Regions from separate parts of the Homo sapiens genome. Here regions 1, 3 and 4 are each linked to region 2. Evidence: promoter capture Hi-C in human tissues and cell types (Jung and others, 2019). All regions are on one chromosome and are shown on one strand. The core of a region is centred on a gene start or on the middle of the fragment in contact, and the rest is flanking DNA. Distances in the headings are between cores, read along the strand shown. Region 1 overlaps STX11 (syntaxin 11). Region 2 holds the start of UTRN (utrophin). Region 3 overlaps UTRN (utrophin). Region 4 has its middle 1.8 kb from the start of TRL-TAA1-1.

What was found. Contacts are between HindIII fragments. The study calls those that stand out against the background at their distance.
Region 1: a contact is called between a fragment that was not itself captured here and the fragment with the promoter of UTRN in region 2, in 3 of the 25 tissues and cell types used here (hippocampus, lymphoblastoid cells and spleen).
Region 3: a contact is called between a fragment that was not itself captured here and the fragment with the promoter of UTRN in region 2, in 5 of the 25 tissues and cell types used here (adrenal gland, heart left ventricle, hippocampus and 2 more).
Region 4: a fragment that was not itself captured here is called in contact with the fragment with the promoter of UTRN in region 2 in 5 of the 25 tissues and cell types used here (bladder, dorsolateral prefrontal cortex, liver and 2 more).

Annotation. Positions count from the first base shown.
Region 1 is chr6:144,180,496-144,183,195 of GRCh38, reverse strand. All of the region lies in intron 1 of STX11 (syntaxin 11), which reads right to left. Among named protein-coding and RNA genes, the nearest start is that of STX11, 31 kb to the right of the region's middle. The HindIII fragment of the contact is 4,950 bases long and covers 1-2,700 here.
Region 2 is chr6:144,283,971-144,286,670 of GRCh38, reverse strand. UTRN (utrophin) reads right to left here and starts at 1,336. Exons shown (of 75, transcript NM_007124.3): 1 at 850-1,336. It overlaps LOC124901418, which reads right to left and starts at 173. Exons shown (of 1, transcript XM_047419641.1): 1 at 1-173. RefSeq lists silencers at 1,397-1,496, 1,707-1,766 and an enhancer at 1,897-1,966. The HindIII fragment of the contact is 2,482 bases long and covers 1-1,619 here.
Region 3 is chr6:144,384,703-144,387,402 of GRCh38, reverse strand. All of the region lies in intron 2 of UTRN (utrophin), which reads right to left. Among named protein-coding and RNA genes, the nearest start is that of SNORA98, 20 kb to the left of the region's middle. The HindIII fragment of the contact is 6,242 bases long and covers 1-2,700 here.
Region 4 is chr6:144,217,034-144,219,733 of GRCh38, reverse strand. No RefSeq gene overlaps it. Among named protein-coding and RNA genes, the nearest start is that of TRL-TAA1-1, 1.8 kb to the right of the region's middle. The HindIII fragment of the contact is 9,184 bases long and covers 1-2,700 here.

The DNA of each region.
Region 1 (2,700 bases), core at 26-2,525, 100 kb after region 2:
TGTTAATTATAGTTTTCTTTGAGTTGTGGAATTATACATGGTTTAAATTGCTTCCTTTTGCTTTTCTGTATTTTCCAAAATTTTTATAATGTCCACACACATTTCATAATTTAAAAACCCCCATAAAACAATAAATACTATTCGTTTAAAGGACTAACTCCTTAGCAACTTTTAAAAGTCTATGCATGGCAATCAAGTTAACATTTTATGCTACCTGGGGAAAGCACATTAGCTAGTTTGCGTAGAGTTGAGCTGTACCCATCTGCTTAAGTTAGTACCCAATATAGTCTACCATGCAACAAGTGGATGAGATGGAATGGATGCATTTTGATGAACAAGGCAAGAATAGGTGAGAGATGCCTTCCTTCCTTACATGTTGGCCAAGCCTTACAAGGCACTTCAATGGAAGGAAATGGGTAGATAAGGGACTGTACCACGCCCTGGGACACTAGGGATCATTTGTATGTATCCTGCTTATCCTAGACAGGTCCTGTGCTCTGTATTGCTCTCCTACAGCCATTAAAAAGCTATTGGGGGAAATCATCTCATCACAATAAGAAGAGTCAAGTACAATTCAATCATATAGAAAATGGTTTTGGAAGATGTCCAGGGACAGTCATTCCTTCTCAAGATTGAACAACCATAAAGTCATAGATAGCAAATTATAAATCAGGTAAGGGCCCAAGCTCATGTGAAGGCGCAAGTCCATAATGTGCTAATAAGAGAAAAAGAAAGGGTACAGGAGACATAAAGATTCTCTATTGAGGTGTGGTAAAGGAGGGAAGGGGGCCTTCACCTGGCCTTCCTGCCCACCTCTCTTGGCTCAGCCAGCCTTGGATGAGTTGTCTCCACTGACATAGAAGGTCTCCTGGTCACCAGGGAGCAAACATTAGGAAAACTACAACAGAAAGTCAACGAAGAGACTGCTATTCCTAAGAATGTCTCCAAAAAGGTTAAAAGTGTATACACTACTGAAGTTATACAAAAATATAGAAGTGGGCACAAATAGAGAATCAAAATAACCTATATATCCCATAGCTTGATTCTGTACTATGAGTTCCTAGAAAGAGAACTATGGTAAATGAGAAAGAAAAATCAGACAATTCCACTGACCTTCCTGTCTTATTGTAATAAAAGATAATGTAATAAACTTTGGTAAATTGCATTCATCAAGTTGCTAAAAATAAGTCCTGCTTCAATTTGCATGGAGGTGAAGAATTCAAAAGAAAATTGACAACCAACTACCAAAAATCTGCTTCTGCTTTCTAATTTTCTTTTCAGGCATGCATATAATCTGTACTGAAAACCAGATCCAATAAGGAAGGAAGGGGGTATTGCTTAAGCCTTTTTTCATTGAGCAATAAAGTTTTGTGTAAGAGAAAACAAAGGAACAAAGAGATGATGGTAGCTCAGTGGTCCTCGGTCTGCAAGAGGTGACAGAATCTTCTGGAGAGCTTCAAAGATTACAGATGCCTGGGCACCTAGAGTTTCTGATTCGGTAGGCCTAGGATGATCTCCAGGTGATTATAATGCATACTCAAATTTGTGACCCATTCCATAGATACCTACCATGTCAGCTTTTTTTTTTTTTTTTTTTTTTTTTGAGGTGGTCTTGCTCTGTTGCCCAGGCTGGAGTGCAGTGGTACTATCTCGGCTCACTGTAACCTCTGCCTCCCGGGTTCAAGTGATTCTCCTGCCTCAGCCTCCCATGTAGCTTGAATTACAGGCATGCACCACCACGCCCAGCTAAGTTTTGTATTTTTAGTAGAGATGGGGTTTCACCATGTTGGCCAAGCTGGTCTCAAACTCTTGATCTCAGGTGATCCACCTGCCTCAGCCTCCCAAAGTTCTGGGATTACAGGCATGAGCCACTGCACCTGGCCCATGTCAGCTTTTTATTCATAATTATCATGCAATTCTGGAGAACTTATAATAATTCCTAGCTTGGGGGCAATCTCGATGAGCAAAAACCTGATAGAGAAGGAAAAGGGGTAGCTACTGGCCTCTCTCCCCCACTGGAAAGATGGTGGCTTTCATAAGCACTGCCTTCTGGCTCCCTGGTATGGAGGCTAAATAAGAAAGTCAGCTGAAAACTCACTTTCATAAAAACAATCTCTGAAGCTCAAAAGGAAAAGGAATCAAGAATGTTTGAAATAGTTTATTCTGATCCCTTCATTTTATGATGGAAAATTATAATTGTTGCAGGCATGGGAGTATGAATAAAATTGAAGACTGAGCTTACTATGATGAGGCACCCTCAGGTACATGAATAAATACTCTGATAGCATTCACAGGGAACAAGGAAGGATGGTGATATTCTATTAGTTAAATATTCTAGCCATTGAGACCTAGATCCTGCTTTGAATAGCCTACTATATTTGGCACATAGAATCTTAAAATTTTCTGTCATATCAGGAAGGAACAATTCAGAAAGCAGGTTTCCACCTACCTCAGCAGACCAAAGAGTGGAGGTGACAATCACATTGTATTAGTCCATTTTCACACTGCTGATAAAGACATACCCAAGACTGGGAAGAAAAGAGGTTTAATTGGACTTATAGTACCACATGGCTGGGGAGGCCCCAGAGTCATAGTGGGAGGTGAAAGGCACTTCTTACATTGTGGTGGCAAGAGAAAATGAGGAAGGAGCAAAAGCAGAAACCCCTGATAAACCCATCAGATCTCATGAGACTTATTCAC
Region 2 (2,700 bases), core at 87-2,586:
CTGAAAGTTGCACAGCCTTCAATTGGTGCTTTGTTGGTTTTTAAGTGGCCTTGAGCAACCACAGCCTCGGACCCCGGGCCAAAGCGGGGCATGAATTACCTTGTCAGTTGCAGCAAGAGATCCCCAGAGTCCGGAAAAGGAGAGCCGGCGACTGCGCGGGACTACACACCAATGGGGCGCCCCCCTCCTCCTGTCCCCTCAGTCTCTCCAGGGCCGCTGCCAGGGAGCTTGGCGATCGCGCCACACTCTCCGGAGCCCCACCCTTGGGAGCAGCAACCACCCAGAGGTCAAGCACGTTCCCCGCCGGGCGGCTGGCTGGGAAGCGCTCCGCTGGCCGCCGACCACACAGCCACCCTCTGCCCACCCTCTCCTGTGGACACCGCCGGAGCCCCGCCTTCCCCGGGCCCGGGTGTCTGTGACAGACTCTCCTAAGAGGCCACGTCCCCTCTTGCAAATCACTGGCCCAGCGCCCTGCACCGCGCGATGCACGGAGGGCGACTCTGTCACCCCGGCGGGGAGGAAGATTAGGGGAGCAGGGAGGCAGCACAGAGCTGGTCAGATAAGTTTGGATCGTTCACAACTAGTACGGATCCCAAGGACCTCCACGCCCGAGCTCTCCACGCCTCCGGCATTCTCTCTCGCACCGCGGGGAGCTAAACTGAGGCCCCGAGGAAAGGGCACGCAAAAGTTACTCCCATCTTCGACTCTGGGACTTGGGAAGCAGCTCGGGACGCCGATCCCAGGCGGAAGAACCACAGAAAGAGCCATCCTCCTCCCGGCCCCCGCCCCATTCCCTCGGGGGCTGTAGTCACATTACCAGCCCGAGGCTTCAATAATGCATGGGCTTACCTGCTGCCCGCGGGCCTCCTCGCCTGCCGGTCGCCACCGCCGCACCCCGAGCTGGCCAAGGGCTCCTCTAGGAGTTTGACACGGAGTAACCGCGGGGGTGTGTGCGAGTGTTAGTTTGGTGGTGCGATGTATTTAAAAAAAAAAATAAAGCTTGGAGAAGCAGACACGAACCGAAATTTTAAAAAAAGAAAGAAAGAAAGAGAAATTGACACCCGACTGAAAACGCCCCTTACTTGTGCAATCTTCCTGCCTGGTAGTTCCGCCAAAAACAAAACAGTCAAAGCGCAAACCTGGAAGGGGCGCGCAGGCACCAACTTTGCCAAACGCTACAGAGTTTTCCGTTTGCAGAAATGACCCAAAAGAAGGGGGGCGCCGCTCCCCGTGATTCCCCAATCGGCTTCTGGAGCCAGAGGCTCCTCCTCGCCCCTCGGCGGGAGAAAGCCCGCGGCCGGCTGCTGCTGCCCGCTTCCCTGCTCCGAGGAAAAACGACTCCACAACTTTGTGCGCGAGAGAGGCTCGCTCCTTCGGCGGCTCCTCCTCCTCCTCCCCGCTGCGGGCCTGCCCCTTTGTTGGAGCCGAGCGCTGGAGGCGGAGGAGGGAGGGTGGGGCGCAGGACCGCTGGGTCGCGCGTTGCCGCCCCCACCCCCCGGGAAGGGGCTCGCCTCCGGGCAGCCAGGGGTCCGCTCTCCAGATGAGAAGGGTGCAGATCAGCGCCAGCCCTCCGGCCCGCGCCTCTGCAGCGCTCCGGCTCCCCCTCGGCGCTCTCGCCCCGCCGCCGCCGGCCCAGCAACTTTGTTCCGGAAGATCAGCCCCACTACGTTCCCGGGTCAGCGTCTGCCGGGCCTCGGCGGTCACCGCGGCCACCGCGTCGGGAACTTGGCGCCCCAAGTCACCTGACTGCGCGCCCCGTCAATCAGCGCCGGCCCTGCGCGCCCTCCCAGCCCGCAGCAGCCCGGCTCGGCGCTTGGCTGGCCTGGGGCGCGCGCTCCAGAGTGAACCGTGCGTGCCGGGAGCCGGGAGTCCGGAGACCGAACCAGAATGGATGCCTCGAGCAGACACAATTCCCCTTATTCAGATTATCCGAAAATGTGAGTCACGTCCCCTTAGGCAAAACAGGTCTCTAGTTAGGGTGATATTTTTTTAAGAGATAAATTCCAATCTGCCTTCCAACTCACCCCATCTCAGTTTGCTGACGTTGCTGATTTTTTTTTTACCCCTAGTTCCAACCGTATATTTATTTTACATTATTTCTCTAGTGTCGTTGTTAATATTGAAAAAGAAGTTTTCTCTTACATTAGTTTGTATTACAAGTAGTGTTTGCGCTGACCTTATTTTTCTGTTTTCCAATATGCACACACAAACGCACATCTGTTATAGAGCCTGTTCCAAGCTTGAGAGGTTGACCAAAAAATATCTGGGAAGAAATGAGCTCGTGATGTGTGTGCATTTTTCTTATTTACACATTTCATTGCTCGTGTGTTCCTGTGATTCTTTTACACGATCAGCACACGTGGGAGGGGAAAGAAAACAGCAACCTGAGTTCCTAGTTCGTATTAACAGAGAAAAGGATGGTTGATACTGGAGCGCCGGTTTATTGCTGGCTTAATATTTGAGTTAATTTACGCGGCAGTAAAGATTAAACCACTAGGGGCCTTAAACTAATTTTCAGAAAGAGTTTACTCGCCTTTTGTTATAGTGAAAGTTTCCCCCATCCATCCCTAAGTGCTCCAGGGAGGGGGCAGGTAGGAGATTCCCAAAAGAGACTCTTCCTTGTAAGGTTTCTAGGACAGTTTCCTTCCTTTTGATGATTTTCTACGTATAAGCCAAATAAAATCCAAAGGATTAACTTGA
Region 3 (2,700 bases), core at 175-2,674, 100 kb before region 2:
CTTTGGGAGGCCAAGGCAGGAGGATCACTTAAGGTCAGGAGTTCAAGAAGTGGACAATATGGTGAAACACCATCTCTACTAAAAATACAAAAATTAGCCAGGCATGGTGGCACGTACCTGTAATTTCCACTACTCAGGAGGCTGAGACATGAGAATCTCTTGAACCCAGGAGGCGGAGGTTGCAGTGAGCCAAGATCGCGCCGCTGCACTCCAGCCTGGGCGACAAAGTGAATGAGCCTCCATCTCAAAAAAATAAATAAATAAAATGGGAAGAAAAAAATAGAAGATTAAGGCAAAACAAAATGCTACCAACAGATCACACCAAACTACCTAGACTTTCTCCAAAGCCTAATATTTTACTCACTTTCAGAAAAAGAATAGAAACCTGGGAAAAAATGAGGAGTATCTGTCCTTTGCTTATGTACTTTGATGAAATGCCAACTACTACTATAAATAGCATTTTTTTAAATAAGAAAAAATGGAGTATTTCGGAAGTGGTTTTTGGTTTTTTTTTATATTGAGTTTTTTTGTCTTTATTTGGAGTGTTTTAATATCCGCCATGACAAGTTAAAAACAAAATGTAAGATCATAAAAAAAGGAAGAAGAGTCATTTTAATAATTAAATTTGTAAAATTGCACATCCGCTAAAATGCAATCCTTTGTCCAAGATAAATATTTATAATAAGCAGGAAAAACAAGTCAGAAAGGAACACTGCATTCCCCTTCAAAACTCAGGGCTAAAAATTTCTTCCCATGGACATCACAGTTTAAAAATTGGCCCATAAATCACAGAACTCTTTGCCTAAAAGGGTATAAATTGGAAGTTAATAAATAAAATAATTGAAAGGTTTAGTCTCATATTGAAAAATACATATTCTTATTTTTAATTTTCATAACTATGAAAAGGTTCACATAAACTACTAATACTTTTTGTTTGTTTGTTTGAGACAGAGTCTCACTCTGTCACCTAGGCTTGAGTGCAGTAGTATGATCACGGCTCACTGCAGCCTTCAACTTCCGAGGCTCAAGCGATTCTCCCACCTCTGCCTCCCAGGTACCTGGAGGGCATGTGCCAACATGCCTGGCTAATTTTTGTATTTTTCTGTAGACACGAGGTTTCGCCATGTTGCCCTGGCTGGTCTCGAACTCCGGGGCTCAAGCAGTCCGCCCGCCTACACCACACAAAGTGCTGGGATAACAAGCATGAACCACTGCTCCCAGCCTTACTAATGAATTTTTTAATTAAAAAGCTCATTCAGGTAGGGTTGGATGAGGGGGACAGATAAAATCCATTGCCTGAGCAAAAGCGCAAGAAACTTCATTTACAGGCCACTCACTTTCCTAATGACTTCCTTCATGTTAACTTCTTGTCACTGTTAAAAATTAGGGTTCTGGGCCGGGGACAGTGGCTCATGCCTATAATCCCAGCACTTTGGGAGGCTGAGGCAGGTGGATCATCTGAAGTCAAAAGTTCAAGACCAGCCTGGTCAACATGATGAAACCTTGTCTCTACTAAAAATACAAAAATTAGCCAGGTGTGGTGGTGTGCGCTTGTAATCCCAGCTACTCAGGAGGTTGAGGCAGGAGAATCACTTGAACTTAAGAGGCGGAGGTTGCACTGAGCCGAGATCGCACCTCTGCACTCAAGCCTGAGCGAAAGAGCAAGACTCCGTCTCAAAAGAAAAAAAAAAAAAAATAGAGTTCTGGCAGCACTGTCTTTATTTAATAGTCTACTGTGAGTCTGACATTTATTGCCTTTAAAAGAAAAAATTTGTAAATTCAGTCTATACTATCACTGGGTACTGCAAACTTGCTAATTATATCTTCAGTGTAAAATAGCTCTTCCTCTCATTTGTCTTGAACATTTGCTGGTCTTTTAAGCATCAAAAAGTCCAGATAACTGTTGAAGGTTAGAAGAATAAGTTTATGTTTGCTTTTCTGAAATAAGCTTATAGCTGGTAAGTATGTCTTCTTTCCACTTTCATATTTTTAGACTGAAGAGTACTGATCACCTTAGTCAGTTTTACAAAAGTAACAAATGCATTCGCTCCGGGACTTGGGTTTCCTTCACTAGAATACCTTCCACTGTTAAATCATTTAAGTAGGAGACCAGAATCTCAGATCGTAATCCATGTGCACAGTCAACATGGCTTTGCAAAGGAAGGATAACGTTCTCTGTTTTCTTTCTTGTCTCCTTCCTAAGGACACCCCAAAACCTAGCGTTTTTCTGCATTACAGCACTGCAATGGCATCTTTTAGGAACACTAGAATTACTCCCTTCCCTGAACCTATGGACTGTATAAAATATAACTCGTGATCACAAATTTTTCTTGGAGGTTAGCAAGAGTCAATCAAACAAAAAGATTTGGATGAATGATCTTTCCTCAAAACTTTAGCATTTCCCTCAAGATAAGAGTAAGCTAACTACCATTACCTAGGGTTATGTCAAGGAGAAACGGGATCTGAGTAAAAAGCATATGCAATGATATAACCAGAAGAACTGAAAGCAGAATCTCAGAGATATTTGTACATCCATGTTAATAGGAACGCTATTCACAAAAGCTAAAAGATGGAAGCAACCCAAGTGTCCACAAACAGATCAATTAATTAGCAAAATGTGATATTTACATAAAATGGAATAATAACCAGCCTTGAAGAGAAAGGAAATTCAGACACATGCTACAACATGGATGAACATGG
Region 4 (2,700 bases), core at 147-2,646, 67 kb after region 2:
ACAAGCAAAATAATTAAGGCTTCCAAATTCCAACTTCCTACTGAGGACCAAGAACGCTACTTGTTCAGGATCTCTCAAATTGGACATGACTTCTGTGTTTTAAAGCTGATGGCTAATCCAGATATCTATTATCCTTCAACTTCATAGCCAGATTTGGAATTGGAAAATGAACTGAAACAAACAAAGAAGATGCAGTGCAATAAAGCTTCTATTGATACAATGAAAATAATGTCTCGTGCAAGTTGTATCAGTGATTCAGGATTATTTTCAATGGCAGGTTTATCATTAATGATTACAAGAGAAAAAAGAAAGTCAATTTACTGGCTGACATAGATATAGCCTGAATCTGCTTCCAAACACAGTAACTGTGGAGCAAATTATCAGAATTCTATAGTCAGAACAAGGCAGACAGAATTTAACAAAAAATTTGCCTCAACTTAACCAGTAGGTGTCACTGCGTAAATACATTGGTAGCAGCTTTTCCTACAGAGATCTATGTAAAAGCCCAATAGAAAATAAACAATTTTGAATAACTTACAACTAGTTCAAACCCACAGAGAATGTTTATAAAGCCACACTGTTAATTTTTAATTCAAAGGATTGACTTAAGTTCTTTTTGTTAAAATAATTATTAGAAAATCATTATAAGTTTAGTGGCAGTATACAAATTTAATGATTCAAATTTAATTTAAACTAATGTAAATTTAATTCAAACTAAGTTAACGATTCAAATTTAACTTCAATATATTCGCTATGTTTTAAGAACTTTTGAAAATATATAAAGAATCTAATATAACAAATCTGCTTTTCAAGGAAAAAATCCTGGGCTTTTAAGGAGGAAGAGAAAGACTGAGCTCAGTCTAACTGGCTATTAACAGAATTAAACAATTTTTCCCCCAAAATATTTTCTACCAATTCAACATGCCCCCCATCCCAAGCCTATAAAGACAGACCAAGATTCTCTACATCGGTAGACACAGATACTTCCAAATGTAACACTTGTCAGGTTCCTTCTGTTGCAAATCCTTCAGGGCATCCTGGGCATCATACTTCACAGGGCCCCCAGATGGCTCCCACGTGGCTTACCCCACCTGTATCTGTCTCCCTCTCCCTCTTGCCCCTCCCTCATCCCTGCTTCTCTTCTTTCACCTCTCAACTAAAGCTGGCTCTCTGAGGAAGAGTCAGGCCTTCCCAAACCACTCCTTTAGCACCTTGGGCATAATTCATATTTTTTCATTACAAATGTGGCTTATTAAAATCTCTGTCTCTTGCTATCTGAGCTCACTGAGACAGAGGCCGGGTTATTTATCTGCACATCCCAAGTATCTAATAGTGAGTGGCTCAGAGCCTGTTCTCAGTTGCTGGCAGGATGTTTATTTCCAAAATATGTAGACACTCTTTTTCTCTTTCCTTTTTGAACAATTCAATTCTAAAGCCATTACATGAGCTTAAGCAATGTATAGATCTGCACTGGGGAGGCAGGAATTCAGGGAGTTACAAACATGGACAGGGAGACAAAATAGAACAAAGTCTATAGTGTTGGATCAGAATTGGAGGTATATATAAACTCCTTGATATACATAAAGATATATGAATAAATATAGATATATATTTATATAGATATACAAATAGATAAATATGCACACACACACACTCCTTAATTCTGTCTACCCAGAGGGCCTGGAAGTAGCAACACCTCAAAAGCAATGAGCACACCTAGCACTGAGACCTTGGTTTCTAGATACCATTCTCCACTAAAAGGAACCAAGGATCTTTAGAAAATGGCTGATTCTAGTACTGGGTCAGGAAAGCACAAGGTAAATCTGGACCATCTTGGAGTAGGAAGTAAGGAAGTGCTAAAGAATAATGCAGACAGGTCAAAAGTCAGCTTGAATGGGCTGTCACTGGCCCAATCTGAGACACTCTGAGCATCAAAATGAATGAATGGATTGTAACCATTAATTAAAATAGGGCACCATGGATACATACGTACATAACTTATAATTCCATAAATAATTGAATAAAATGAAAATTTGATAAGGCACCGGATATTACACAGCTTCAAAGCACTTCCCTCTAAAACAGGTACTAATCACAAAGGGAAAACAGTAACTTTACAGAGGAGAAGCCTGGCAGAGAAGCAGGCCACACGGAAATCATGCGACCTGAGAGGCTGCCGTGAGAACACTGCATGGCTTCTGTGGAAGTCCTGCTAAATAAACAGAGCCTGGATCTCATCAGGAGGAAACACCAGAAAACCTAGACTGACAAAGGGACATTCTACAAACCGGCTGGCTTGTCAGCAGAAGTGTCAAGATCATGAAAGTCAGCAGAGGCTGAGGAGCTGATCCACACGGAAGAAGCCGAAGGAGACAGGACAAGTAAATGCAACGCATCATTCTGAAGAGGAGCCTTTTGCTATAAAGAACATTCTTGCGACAACTGGTGACCGATTGCGCACCGAGGATTAGATGGTATTAAATCATCAATGTTAATTTCCTGATTTTAATAGTAGTACTTGGGCATCCACTAGGTATTTTACTTTTAAATGATTCAAGAGAGGAAAAAAAGTTATTTGCAGTGTACTTGCAACTTTTAAAAATTCTTAGATGGCTCTCATTAAACAAACAATTTTAAAGGGAGAAGAAGAAAAAAAAAACTTGACCACGCTGTATTTAAAAATTCTAAGCCGAACCCAAG